Linked DNA regions of Homo sapiens: all the other regions are linked to region 1. The links are contacts of gene promoters, found by promoter capture Hi-C in blood cells and fetal thymus (Javierre and others, 2016). All regions are on one chromosome and are shown on one strand. The core of a region is centred on a gene start or on the middle of the fragment in contact, and the rest is flanking DNA. Distances in the headings are between cores, read along the strand shown. Region 1 holds the start of FBXL17 (F-box and leucine rich repeat protein 17). Region 2 overlaps MAN2A1 (mannosidase alpha class 2A member 1). Region 3 overlaps LOC105379117 (a long non-coding RNA gene). Region 4 overlaps LOC105379117 (a long non-coding RNA gene). Region 5 overlaps PJA2 (praja ring finger ubiquitin ligase 2).

Region 1 (2,673 bases), core at 57-2,556:
ACAGTCCGCGTCGCCACATTCATGCTGCTGCTGGGCGGACAAGGGGGCGGTGCCCCCGGCTCGGACAGCGTCCCCGCCAGCTTCGGTGGGGGCACCTTCGGAGGTGGGAGAAGAGGGCGGAGGGCAGAGCGGCTGCGGGGGCTGCTCCGGGGCCTGGCAGCAGCCGGCGTCGGGGGGCCGGGGCGGCGAAGCGCCTCCCCCCGCAGGCCCTCCCCCGCCACCGCCGCCGCCGCCGCCGCCGCAGCCCCCGCCGCCGCAGCGGGGCTGCTTGCAGGGGGTGCAGGCGGGGACCCCGGCCCCCTTCCGCTTGCACACCATTTCGGGGGGCGTAGGGAGCTCGGCCGGTGACGGTGTCGGCCCCCGGAAGAGCTGCACGGCGGCGGGCGGCCCCAGGAAGCGCACCGGCCCCAAGCTGGCCAGGAAGAGACTTCGGCCCTGCTGCTCCCAGGCGGCGGCCGCAGCCAGCCCCAACTCTTTGCAGCAGGAGGCGGGCGACGAAGCCGAGGCGGCAGCGGCGGCGGCGGCGGCGGCCGAGGATAGCAGGAAGCGGCGGGCAGCAGCGGCGCAGTCCTCGGCGGCCAGGGCCGCGTAGCGCCGCGCCAGGTGCTGAGAGGAGGAGGCGGCAGCGTAGGCCCCGTCCCGCGGCGGCGGCGAGAGCGGCGGCTCCTCCTCTGGGCCGGCGGGGGCGGGCGCGCCGGGACTGTGCACGATGAAGCAGAGCATGCAGGGCCCGCGGAAGAAGCAGTCCCGGCTCCGGGGCGCCGCCGGCTGAGGGGGCACCTTGGCTGGGGTCCGGCGGGGCAGCCTGAGGAGAGGGCGCCGGCGGCGGCACCAACTGCAACAGCGAGGCCTCTTCTGGCTCGGGCGGTTACGCGGCTCCTTCGAGAGAAGGTGGCCCATATAGAAGGCCCCGAGGAGGGGGACCGGGACGGGAGGGAGGGAGACCCAGAGAGGCGGGCTCCCGGCAGCGGGGCAGGCCGCTCGCTGGCTCGGCCCCCGGAGGGGTCGCCCTTCCTGCGCACACACACGCACACACGGGCACACACGCGACGGTGGGGGGTGGGCGTCAGCTGCGGGCCGCCGGAGTGCCCGACGGGGGCTACATGCTTTGCCCAGGGAAGCCGGGAGAACGATGGGCGCGAGCTTTGGGGACGCGAGGGAGGGAGCGAGCGAGCCTGCCGGCTAGGCGACCAGTCCGGGCCCGGCCAGCCGGCTCAGTCAGTCAGCGGAGCGGCCGGGGAAAGGCCGGGTCCCGCTCGGACCATTTTAACTGCGGATCCGCCGCCGGCGCGCGCACCCGCGACTCTGCTCGGAGCCGCAGGAGCGCGCGGCCCGTTCCGGCAGGGGGCGGAGCCAGTTGCGGTGGCGCGCTCGTGGCGGGGACGCCGGCACCCGGCTGCTCACCCGGGACGGCCGTCACACCGGCACTACGGGAAGAAGCCGGCCGGCTAGGGCACGGAGCTCTGGGCTTGCGGGGTGCGGCGCACGCCCCTCCCTCCCACCGCCTAAGGTTTTTCCGAAGCTGCTGGGCGTGCGCCGCGTTTCTGAGGCGGGAGGAGACACTTCCGAGCCAGCTGTGTGACATCCGTTTACACAGCCGCGCTGACGTCTCGAGGTGTAAGTTCAAGAGCTGCCATTGGCCGGGAGCCGCTGGGCTCTTCCCCTCACCTTCCACCCCTGTCACCACCCCTGACTCGGAAACCGAGGCCACTTCGAAGCCGCGAGGCGGGTTCCGCCGGAAGGGCCAGTGTGGGCGCTGACCGCGCTTCGGGCAGAGTGGCAGATGCGGCCCCTGGGTGATGCGCACCGAAGTCATGTGAGGGGTTGATTGGTTGTGCGGCACCACTGTTTACCCACTTGTGTTTTCTTAATTGTTGCGTACTACTGCCTTTCCACAACTTTATTTCAGAATGAAAGCATATATCAAATTACCTGTGCACAGCAGAAAGATAACAGCTTCCCCACCCAGTGAGCCATTCAACACCCAGGCTACAAACTGTAGATCACTTTATTGTCTACACCCTCGGAATCCTGTCTAGCCGTCTGTTGTATATTTTAAACATGACGGTGCAGTGCCTGCTATATGACAAACGTTGGTGATCCAGATGAGAAAGAGGAAACAGCTATGCAGGCAGTCCTTTAGAAGGTTTGACTATATCGAGGCTAAAGAGCTAGGGCAGCTGCTAGAGCGGTACCTGGTGCGGAGAGGTTAGCTTTCACAAGCGAAAAATTAGAGGAGGCAAATACCATGGGAATGAGCCACTCTAGTGAGAGAAATAAGAGGAGAAGGTGGAATGGAGAGTGCTTTAGGAAGGATACTTTCTTCATTGTGATTACAGAGAATGAGGAAAGGTAGATAAAGGACGGATACAGAGAGGTGGATGTTTCTAGCAGGAAGGTGAAAGAGTTCCTTTCTGTTGGTTTCTGTTTTGCTTCAGATAGAGCTTGGTTACCTGCTGAAGGGTGGAAGAGAAGTGGCAGGTGTTTAAAAAAAAATCTGCTAAGGATAACTTGAGAGAGCTGACTGAGGAAGAAGTATTGCAATATTCAAGGCCCAGTGGCTTGGAGAAGACCACTGTTGGAACCTACATTGCTATTCCCACTATAGTGGCCAGCCCCACCCAGCCTGCTCTCAAACATGCTGTCAAACAATTGTTAATTCTGGCCTTTTTG
Region 2 (2,673 bases), core at 1-2,500, 1.3 Mb after region 1:
GAAAGTATGAAGTTTTGCCGGTTTTTTTTTTTTTTTTTGGTCGTTCACAATTACTGTTTCCTCAAACTGCCATGCTTCTTCTAGAACTGATAGTGCTTTGTTTCCTTTGTGATGAGAAGCCTTTCCCTTCAGGGTGAGGACTTCGGGGCTGAAGATGTACTTTGCAGCAGTTCCCTTCTGTTTCTTCATACCACAGATGTAGAGGAATGTGGCATTTATGGGTCCTGGCCTTGGTGGTAACATTTTACCTGTAGAGCATCGGAACATTGAAGACTGAGAATGTGAATCATTCTTAGAATCATTTTCTACATAAAGTCCTGAATTGGTGTTTTTAGAATCCAGTGAAGCAGTCATTCTTTTAACAGTCACCAGCATTCCAGAAAAGTCATGAAAAATTCAGGCACAGAATTGTAGAGTAGGCTGGGTCCTTCCAGGTCAGGTAATTTTTAGTCTTTGATTTTTCAGATAAGGGCACCGAGTCACACATAAACTAGACCTCAGCAATTTGCCCAGTCACAGGATACCTGGGACATGCATCCTGACTTATAATTCACTGGCCTTCCACTGTACTATACCCATATCCAACATATATTTGAAAATTTACTGGGTTAGGTAATATGGAAATTGTGGTAGACATATGTTACTTGTTTTGAAAGAACTTTTTAGTTATTTAGGGAAACAAAACTGCCGTTTGTGAAACTATTAGAGCCAGTTAAGTGCTATTATTCATTAGAAGTTAAAGAGGTTAGAATGTTGCCTGGCATATAGTAAGTGCTCAGTAAATGCTAGTTGTTACCAATGGACAGAGATTTGTAGCATACCTATTATGTAGCAGGCACTGTTCTAGGTTCTGGGAATACAGGAGCTAAGACTAAAACAAGAGTCAATGATATTATTTTACATTCCTGATATAAAGACAAAGGCCTTAAAGAGAACTCAAAAACAGAAACAAGTTTTGGTGATGGCCTGGCTTAAGTTGACTAAAGGAGAGGGTAAAGAAGCTAAGCTTTCCCTATGGGACGATACTTTGAAGGGAGAAAGAAAATTGCTAGTGTAAAGTACGGTGCTTATGAAGGCTTTGAATCCTGGAGGAGATTGGCTTGATTTAGAATCTTTGGTGCCTGTGAAGAGTAGTTGGGAAAACACTGTAGGTAGTTCAGGATCAGATTGCAAATTGCCCTGAGAGTTTGTCTGAAGAGTTATGAGTTAGATGGTAGTGAATCACTCCAAGTTATTGAATATACCAGGAAGCTGCTTGAGAAAAGCAGTGTGAGAGAATTAATTTTGTAGAAAATTTCAGACCTGGAAAGGAGCTAAGAGAATATTCAATCTAGATTATTCTGGTAGCTGTGTGTAGGAAGATTCAAGTAGGAAGGCAGCTGAGAATCTGTTTGAGGTAATATAGACATAAGGCAGTAAATCCCTGTACCAGTATTGAATTGGCTAGAATCGGGAGGATGAAAAATGTGGAGACATTTTGTAAAGAGAAAGACCAAAGCTTTTTAACAGGTTTGATCAAGGGTAATGATGAGTGGCTTGAATCAGAAAATTTCTCCTACCTTTTTCCATTGGGGTGTTGGAGACTGGTTGTACTATTTGCAGAAGGAGATAGGGACAAGCTGATCTGGAAAGTCAAGTTCATTTCATTTATGATGACGTGGATGTTAGTGGAAATAATCAAGTGGGCTGGAAAGCCAGTGAGAGATCAGGGAAGGGAGATGCTGATCTGGTAGTCATCAGCATAGCCGAGAATGAATGAGCTCACTTGGGGACTGTGCTTAGTGAGGGCAGGGCCAAGTACATTTCTGATAACCAAAAGCTGCACATCTTACATTAAGAATATTTTGTAGCAGATGTTAATGAAATAAAGCAGCTTGTGTTCAAATTGTCAGAAACCAGCAGCTCATGGATCAGCTTACCTAAGAAAAGATAAGATGATCAGAAGGAAGGATTTCAAAGAAGCGTTTTAGTAGAGTTTAAAAAAGACCCTTCTCATCTTTGGCACAAATGATAAGACTAAATTATTTTTTTTCTGGGTTAAGACAGAACATAAATTGTGTGTGTGTGTGTGTGTGTGTGTGTGTGTGTGTGTCTGTGTGTGTAGGGAGGATGGGCAGCCCGGTGGTGGAGAGGGAGAGAGAGATTTATTAAGGATCAAAATGCAACACCCCAAATAGGGGGCTGAAGTTTGAAAGTTGTTCTGAAAGTCAGACAGATTTCTGAGAATACCCTCCAAACTGCCTCTTGTTGATAGTAAAGAAAAACTCCCTTCTGTTGGGCTGGTAGGTGACCCCATGAACTGGAGAAGTAAAAACTGTCTTTGACCCTGGGCTACCTCTGGAAAATTTGTAGGGTCAAATAACAACACTTGATGTATAGGATATTTCTTGCTACTTTTAGGTAGAAGATCCAACCAATAATTGTTTTAAACAAAAGAGATTTGAGAAGAACTCCAGAAATTTGTATCCTTAACTCATCTTTGATAACCAATGGTATGATATTTAGAAGTTTGCTATTAATGTATTTTTATGTATTATGTTATGTCTTACTACTGCATTTGTTGCTTCTGTGTCTCACCTTGCCCTTGTAGACCAGTTGTTACAGATGGATTTTTATAAAGAAAGGCAATAGGAAAGAATTTGTAAAACTTTAGAGTCTGTAGTGCTTGTATAA
Region 3 (2,673 bases), core at 99-2,598, 1.1 Mb after region 1:
GTATTAAATGCAGGCTGTGGATGAATGTGTCAACTGGAGACATATTTTGGTAGTTAAATATCAAGAGTTTTAAAAAATATACATTCTCTTTTTTCCAGAAATTCTACGAGTGGGAATTTTTTCCATCAAAATAAACAGATATGTGCAAAAATTTATGTACAAGTTTACTCAGCTACTGTGTTATTTATAAAAGCAAACCATGGAAAGTATTGAGATATAACCGGCAATAAATTATCATATATCTTGAACATTGTGAAGCCATTGAAATGGTAGTAAGAATAACATTTAATGATAAGGAGAAGTATTTATATTAATTGAAAAATCAGGTTATAGAATATTTATAGTATATTTACAAATTTGTAAAACATATGTGCATATAAAGGTAAATGAGATAAAGTTTATACCTAAACATTTTAATAATTATTTTTGTGTGGTGGAATCAACATTAATTCTGTATGTGTTTCTGTATTTTCCAAAGTTTTTAATAATAAGTGTGTATATTTTATAATTCAAAAAGTCACAAATTGTTAAAAAATGGTTGGGCTTTTGAAGTATATTACAACATAGAAATTTCAAAAATGCTTTACCATGTTTAGATTATTACGTATTAAGCTTCATAGGATGATTATTGAAACTTTCTATGTTTTGTCATTCTCCAAATAGGTTTTTCTATACAAATTTATTTTATCCTTTTATTTACATTTAGGGGACATTTTCCCAAAGAAGATAGCAATCCAAATAATCTATAAGGAACCATCGGTGTACTTACTCTCTACAAAGCTCTCTGCTGCCAGCTGTGAAGAATATGAGACGGATGAGAAACATCCAGGCTGTCAGGGTACACAGAGATTGTCCAAGGTTATCCATCTATTCAGAGGCAGAGCCAGGAATTAACAAACGAGACACAGCTGGAAGCCAGGGATCCTTAAATCCCACTGTTGGCTTGTACTAAGTCAGGTATCTCTGCTCACCATGTGAGCATCCACTTCTCTCCTGCCATGCATCATACTGGTCCTGGAGACAGACAAGAGTTTTACCAACCATCACCAACCCAGATCTCCTCTTCCCTGTGAGTGCTGTTCCACTGAGGCTTGTCACTGTCTTCATCCTTGCCTCATCCTTTTTTCTTTTAATTTTAATTTTTGTTAAGGTTAATCATACCCTCTAAAGATCCAGTTGTCCACAACGTTTGCTATGAAACACAGTATTGCCTCACCCCTCCTGAAGTTTTTGTTCTTCCCCTAAGCAATCACTTTGATCTTTTTTACTGACTATATTGTCATGTAGGCTTCACGACTCCAAGTAGCATTCTTGCTGATTTTTCAGTTTCTGGCATTGTTAACTGGCTTCCAGCTATGTAAGATGAGACTCTATCTAGCTCCCTTTTTTTCCATTTCCCTAGTCTTCTCCACGTATGTAGTCTTCTCATTCTCTTCCTCCAGTAGAGCTATATTATAATTTTTGATAAATTAATATTACATATCAATATATTATGACAATGTAAATTCTGTTTATAGTGGAGACCTGTAGTAAACTCTGAACACTATTCCTTTCCTGCACAACATTTTGTTTTTCCTGGAGTTAAAATTGTTGTCATGTGCTTCCATTTTTTCATGCCTTTAATCACTATTCCACTTCTCACTCTTCGACAATTTTCTAAATCTTCTCTCTGGATGCTTCCTGAGAAGTTTTCTACTGAGTTTTCGTTTTTAACTGTAGCATTTTTATTTTGTAAAAGCTCTTTGTTATCTGAGTATTTCCTTATTATAGTAGCCTATTCTTGTTTTTGTTTGCATGATCTTCTCTTATCTCTCTGTAGATTGATGCTGTTTTGTTTTTATTTTTAGGTTTCTTTTTCCTGTATACTCTCTGTTTTCTATGTTGCTTTCAATCTATTTGTTTTGGTTTTTATCTTTCAAGTTATATGTTGGCTTCTAATGCCTAATAAGCCTTGGCTGTCTTCTCATATTTTACAGTATTTTATATATAATTATACATGCATTATATATATTTTTTATTTGACACATATTGTCTGTTTATATTTTATAGTATTTTCTAGCTCACTGGCCAATTTTTTCTCTAAGCAAGCTTCTTTGATTTATTTTTATTTTTGATTTTTAGGAATACGTAATAGTTGTACATCTTTATAGGGCACGTGAAATTTTGATACAAGCATACAATGTGTAATGATCAAATTAGAGTAATTGGGATATCCATCACCTCAAACATTGATCATTTATTTGTGTTAGGAACGTTCCAATCCCACTCCTCTCGTTATTTTGAAATATACCCACTGGCTACTTTGCATAAATAGGCCTTATGGATTGTGAATTTCATTGTGGGGGTGATCTTGGGCTATTTACTTGAGAAACTTCTGATGTTAGATCTTTAGAACTTTCTTTTTGGGTTAGTATTATTTTCCAGAGACTGTCAATCTTTTCTCTGGATGATGGTAAAAGCCTGGCTACCCAGCATATAGGGAGCTGAGTGGAGGAAGATGGGTACATTCAACTTAATCCTCCAGTTTTCAATATAGTGCTCACACATTCGATTTTATGTTTTTGCTTTCAGACCAGAAACCCTCTTGTCTCACACACTTCAGAAAATGAATTTCCAGTCCTCAGTAAATATAACTTAGGTCATTCAGAAATTATATAGGTCAGAATTTATCCA
Region 4 (2,673 bases), core at 87-2,586, 1.1 Mb after region 1:
TAAATGACTGTATGTGGACATTTATAAAGGAAAAAAAAAAAAAAAAAAGAAGAAACAACTGGGAATACCTTGGGATTCTTTTTAAAAAGCTCTGGGCCAAAAAAACACCAATTACCCTACCCCTTGAAATTCTAAAAGAAAAGAGAAAATTAAGCTGATTGAATTTATTAAATTTATTATGGTCAACGTATTATAGCAGAATTTTATTTCTTTTCTGTGCTATAAGTATATTTGTCCATTGTATAATCAATGTAGATGTAAGCCTCTTGACAACTGTATAAGATGTGGATTATGAATTTTACGTTTAAAATTATTATGGCTGTATCTCATTGTCGAATCTTTGTTTTTATGGCAAGTTTGCTGGAAATAGCTACAGTTTACTTGTTTTTATAACAAATACTTAGCTCTGTGACCCTCAGTTGTAACACTGGTCCTGGCAGGTGGCAGTGGGGAGTGGTCTGTGTTACCACTGATCCCTATATGTTATAATTTCCAGGAATGCATTGTGGACACAAACAAGAACTGTCTGTACTCTTGCAGGAAATGGAAACGGTACAAACCAGCATTTGAGTGAATGAACACTGAAAATGCATGCTGCAACCAACCACTGGATCAGGGTACAAGACAAATAATGGTTCTAGTGGAACTTGGGGGAAAAGCACTTTTACATGGAATTTAATATATTGTTCCCTGACTTATCTTTGTTTATGATTCTATAGTTGGATAATTGTTTTCCTCAATCCTATGACAAAAAGAGTTGGAGGCGTCAGGAAGAGCAAGAACAATTTGGCTCTCAGTGAATTTTTAATAAACAATGTGTTGCATCAAGAACAATTAAATGCTTTTAAATGTAAGATAATTTTACTTAGACAAATGGTTTTTGAGAAGTACTTTCAAGACAGAATTGAGTAGATAATTTCTTAGACTAATTACCTTATATCTAGCCATTCCAGTAAAACATGACTGGAGCACATATTATTTTACTTAATTTTTTTTCCATTTGGTTCAATTTTCAAATCTGAATACTTTTAAACATTGACTTCTATTTAAAATGTTCTGTTCACAATGCAGTGCTAAGTGAAAACATTAAACTGTGTTTTCCAAATTTTCTACGATAATCAGAAAAAGATTGTATATAAATAATTCCACAGGCAACTCTTTAGAGTATGTCTAAATGGCAAATTTGACTCGTCATTAATGGTAACTTAACATATCATGTACACCAGAAACCAGGAAAGGATCTATCTCATGTTCTCCTAAACCTCAGCCACAGTTGAACAACTGAAATCAATATACTTCTCAAGCAAGTGAATAATTCCTCAAAGCAATTTTTAAAAGGAAAAGAAAATTTTCTTTCATACAAGCATCTTTTCCCTCAGTGATTCTTACATTTGCCTCTTTTTCTCACAAATTTCTAAGATAGGAGATAGAGTTAGCCTTTATGTTTTAAAATTTTCCCTTGATTTACTAAAACACATATAAATTTCATGGTTTTTGAGGAACAATGACACAGAGGATAGTTGACTTAGGGTGAGGTTAGTATGAAGGAATAAAAATGTCAGTTTTTTTTTCCTCATAAATAAAAGTGAATTCCTAAAACTTTCTCCCATGACTTCAGGTAACTGGAGTAACATTTTTGGGAAGCTAAAGGCAAAATATCTCTATTTCATTATTTGGTGAAGACTGATAACCATTTGAGAAAAGTAGTTCTTATTGCTTGATTCAAGTTCCTGGAGAGCTATGGCTAAGATTTTTTTCTATTATACTTAGTATATAATGTAGTATAATTATTTGCATATTGGAGCCCTAAATTTGTTATATAAAAATAGCAGGTAGTGTGTATGAAAGAGAAAGAACTATGATACAAAAAAATCTGGCCAGCAGAGCTGCAGCTTTGCTGTGCAAAGGGTAGAATTATAATTTATTTTTTGTGACTGGCCCAGGGTAGCTGCAAAATAAGTGGCTCTGATAACCAAACAGATAATAGTAACTATACTTTTAAAAAACTTGCAATGATTTAATAGGACATTGGACACACGATTTTAATAGTCTGCATGCCTCCAGAGGTATCACTGTTTCTCAAATGGAAAAGCCAAAATGAAAATTCTAGTCCCTGTGAGAAGGTGTTAGAAGAAATCATTTTTAAAAACCCAAAAGGACTCACTTTATTATTTTTGACAAGAATTTCTCCCTAAATATAAAGATAAGATAGCATTGTAAAAGTGACTGTAAAAGAAAAAAACCCACTGTAAGGCTATTAGGGACAGCTGGCTGAACTGCTATGTCAGAATACATTTTTATTTCTTTAAAAATAAAACTTGAATATTGGAGTAAAATCTTATTTAAGATTTTTAAATATATAAAAATGCATACTTGTTATGCAACTTTATCAGATCTCAACATATTGCACATTTTGCCTATTTATTTCACAATTTATTTTGTAAAATAAATGAAACAAAGTTTTTTATGTTTTCTTTCCCTGGAAATAACAACTACCATTAATTTGATACTTAAGTTTCCAATAATTTCTTTATAGTCCACTGTTTGTCTTTTTTTTCCTTATTTGTGGTATCTTTTGATACACAGGAGTTTTAACATGGAAAAATTTATCACTTTTTATTTTGTGCTTTTGGTGTCTTATTTAATAAATTCTTCCTTATCCTGAGACAAAAC
Region 5 (2,673 bases), core at 74-2,573, 1.0 Mb after region 1:
TCAAAACCAGCCTTTTAGTAAGACCACAGGTCAGATGATCATATGTCACTTACTGGTACTCAAGGTACCCAGAGGAAAAAACAAGAAGTACTCAATGTAGAAGAACTGACTTTCCTTACCTGCTGGCTCCTTTTCAGTGTACTGTGACATATATGGCAGCGTCTGTGTGACCAGTTCAGTAGAATTATAGATGTGATTTAGTTTTTATTCACACTATGGACAAGCCGCAGAAGATTCCTACAAAGAAACAATGAATTGAACAATATATTAATAAAAGCACAAAAATAGCAAAACTGATACTTCTGCTCCTCCTAGTGAAGTCTTATAATAAAACTTAGAAAAATACAATGTGATGTAGCCAGCATGGTGGCAAATGCCTGTGATCCGCCTTAGATTACAGCACTTTGGCAGGCCAAGGCGAGCAAATCAGTTTGAGCTCAGGAATTCGAGAACAACCTGGCCAACATGGTGAAAGTCTGTCTCTGCAAGAAATACAAAAATTAGCCAGGCGTGGTGGTGCACACCTCTAGTCCCTCAGGAGGCTGTGGTGGGAGGATTGCTTGAGCCCAGGAGGTGGAGGCTGCAGTGAGCCGAGATCATGCCACTGCACTCCAGGCCTGGGTGACAAAGTGAGATCCCGTCCCAAAAATAAATAAAAACAAGAAAAATACAACACAATTTGACAAGCCAATCAAAAACTCTCAGAAATACCAAAATGGCTATGTGAAATACAGATTTACATCTGCTCTTGATAAACCTTGCCTAAGTATATATCATCCTTAAGACTGTCAATGACAACAACACATACATAATTTGTAAGTAAACAAACAAAAATATCAGAAGTACTGACTCAGGTATGTAACCAAACTATTTGGGAGTCTACTACACTGTGCTATCATTGCTTCTCTGTCAAGCAGTAAAGTTCCTTTAGCCCTGGAATTGCTAAAAGGTAACTGTAAGAATACAAACTTCATTTTTTAAAAATGTGTAATGGCTTATAACAATAATTAATGTGTGTAAATAATGATGTATTTATTCTTTGCAATAGTCAGTTGATCAGATAATTTAATCCCAAATAAGAACCTATTTTCAATCAGGAAAAACTACAATTTATCATGGAACAAATACAAAAAGAACTTCTGTTTTGAAATTAATGCATTTATTTACTATTTGAAAAGTACTATTTGAGAAGTTGCAACCTGTGGTTTTTTTGAAAGTTTGGTTAAGTTTTTATTTAAACACCTTATTTATTTAAACACTTGAGCTACTGCTAATTGCTCATCATTAATGCAATAGCTCTGCAAATGAGTTTAATTTATATGTTACCTGTCTAATCACAGACAGATATATATTAACATACGTAAGAGTACAAACCCACATTCACCCATATAATTTATAAATTCAGTAACAAGTTATGATCCTTTAAAGTATCTGAATCAAAAGAGGCTGTTAGCAACAGCTAAAGAGAAAAGGAATATAAAAATAATAATAATCTTAACATACTGGCAAAAACATAGGTGCTAATTAACAGTGTTTTAACTTTTTTTTTTTTGAGGGCGAGTCTTGCTCTGTCGCCCAGGCTGGAGTGCAGGGGCTTGATCTCGGCTCACTGCAACTTCCACCTCACGGGTTCAAGTGATTCTCCTGCCTCAGCCTCCCAGTAGCTGGGACTGTAGGCGTGTGCCACCATGCCCGGCTAATTTTTGTATTTTTAGTAGAGACAGGGTTTCACCATATTGGTCAGGCTGGTCTCAAACTCCTGACCACGTGATCCACCTGCCTTGGCCACCCAAAGTGCTGGGATTACAGGCATGAGCCACAGTGCCTGGCTGAAATGTGCGTTTTATTCTGAGATGGAAAACCATCAAAGTTCTGACCACAGAAGAGATATTTGACTTCTGTTTTAAGAAGAATGCTCTGGCTACTGTATTGAATAGCATGAAGAGGAATGAGGTCTAAAGCAGGGAGCACTGTTAAAAAGCTATCAAAATAATACTGGTAAGAGATCATAGTGGTTTGGACCAGGGTTAAAATAAAGATGGTAAGAAATGACCAGATTCTGGACATATTGTAAAAATACAATCAACAAAATTTACTAATATAGGATATGAAAGAAGGTCGAGGTTGACTCCAGGTTTTACAGGCTGGGCAATGGGAAAAATGGAGTAAATTTCAATTAATGTAGGAAAAATTGTGGAAGAGCCAGATTTGAAGAAAATATATTCAGTTCAGTTTTGGATGAGTTAAGTTTGAGATATCTATTAGACATTCAAATGGAAATATTAAATAGGAGTCTGGTGTTGACTGAAGAATTATGAGCTGTTAGTATAATTTGGGAGTTGTCAGTGTATAGATTATACCAAAACAGGTATGAACTTGGATGAGATCTCTAGGTGTACATGGAGAAGTGAAGTTAAGCCCTGAGAAAATCAAATATGAAGAGGCCAGGGAAAAAGAAGCAGAGATTGAGTATCCCTTTTCCAAAATGCTTGGAACCAGAAGTGCGGATTTGGGATTTTTTCAAATCTTTGAATATTTGCATATACATAATGAGATATCGTGGGGATGACATCCAAGTCTAAACAGAAAATTCACTTGTTTCCTACACATCTTACACACACAGTCTGAAAGTAATTTTATACAATACTTTTAATAATTGTGTGCATGAAATAA

The links. The method cuts DNA at HindIII sites, captures the fragments that hold promoters and counts their contacts. A CHiCAGO score of 5 or more calls a contact.
Region 2: a fragment that was not itself captured here is called in contact with the fragment with the promoter of FBXL17 in region 1 in 1 of 17 cell types (total B cells); the score reaches 8.4 in total B cells.
Region 3: a fragment that was not itself captured here is called in contact with the fragment with the promoter of FBXL17 in region 1 in 1 of 17 cell types (total B cells); the score reaches 5.2 in total B cells.
Region 4: a contact is called between a fragment that was not itself captured here and the fragment with the promoter of FBXL17 in region 1, in 1 of 17 cell types (monocytes). The highest score is 5.3, in monocytes.
Region 5: a contact is called between a fragment that was not itself captured here and the fragment with the promoter of FBXL17 in region 1, in 1 of 17 cell types (naive CD4 T cells). The highest score is 6.5, in naive CD4 T cells.

The regions. Positions count from the first base shown.
Region 1 is chr5:108,380,792-108,383,464 of GRCh38, forward strand. It overlaps FBXL17 (F-box and leucine rich repeat protein 17), which reads right to left and starts at 1,307. Exons shown (of 9, transcript NM_001163315.3): 1 at 1-1,307. The coding sequence starts at 900. RefSeq lists silencers at 158-237, 258-1,007, 1,208-1,457 and an enhancer at 1,558-1,677. The HindIII fragment of the contact is 13,285 bases long and covers 1-2,673 here.
Region 2 is chr5:109,700,261-109,702,933 of GRCh38, forward strand. The region is part of intron 1 of MAN2A1 (mannosidase alpha class 2A member 1); the gene reads left to right. Among named protein-coding and RNA genes, the nearest start is that of MAN2A1-DT, 10 kb to the left of the region's middle. The HindIII fragment of the contact is 492 bases long and covers 1,005-1,496 here.
Region 3 is chr5:109,498,669-109,501,341 of GRCh38, forward strand. The region is part of intron 4 of LOC105379117 (a long non-coding RNA gene); the gene reads left to right. Among named protein-coding and RNA genes, the nearest start is that of PJA2, 90 kb to the left of the region's middle. The HindIII fragment of the contact is 1,476 bases long and covers 611-2,086 here.
Region 4 is chr5:109,475,970-109,478,642 of GRCh38, forward strand. The region is part of intron 4 of LOC105379117 (a long non-coding RNA gene); the gene reads left to right. Among named protein-coding and RNA genes, the nearest start is that of PJA2, 67 kb to the left of the region's middle. The HindIII fragment of the contact is 5,589 bases long and covers 1-2,673 here.
Region 5 is chr5:109,383,284-109,385,956 of GRCh38, forward strand. It overlaps PJA2 (praja ring finger ubiquitin ligase 2), which reads right to left. Exons shown (of 10, transcript NM_014819.5): 2 at 120-237. The coding sequence starts at 150. Among named protein-coding and RNA genes, the nearest start is that of PJA2, 25 kb to the right of the region's middle. The HindIII fragment of the contact is 2,699 bases long and covers 1-2,673 here.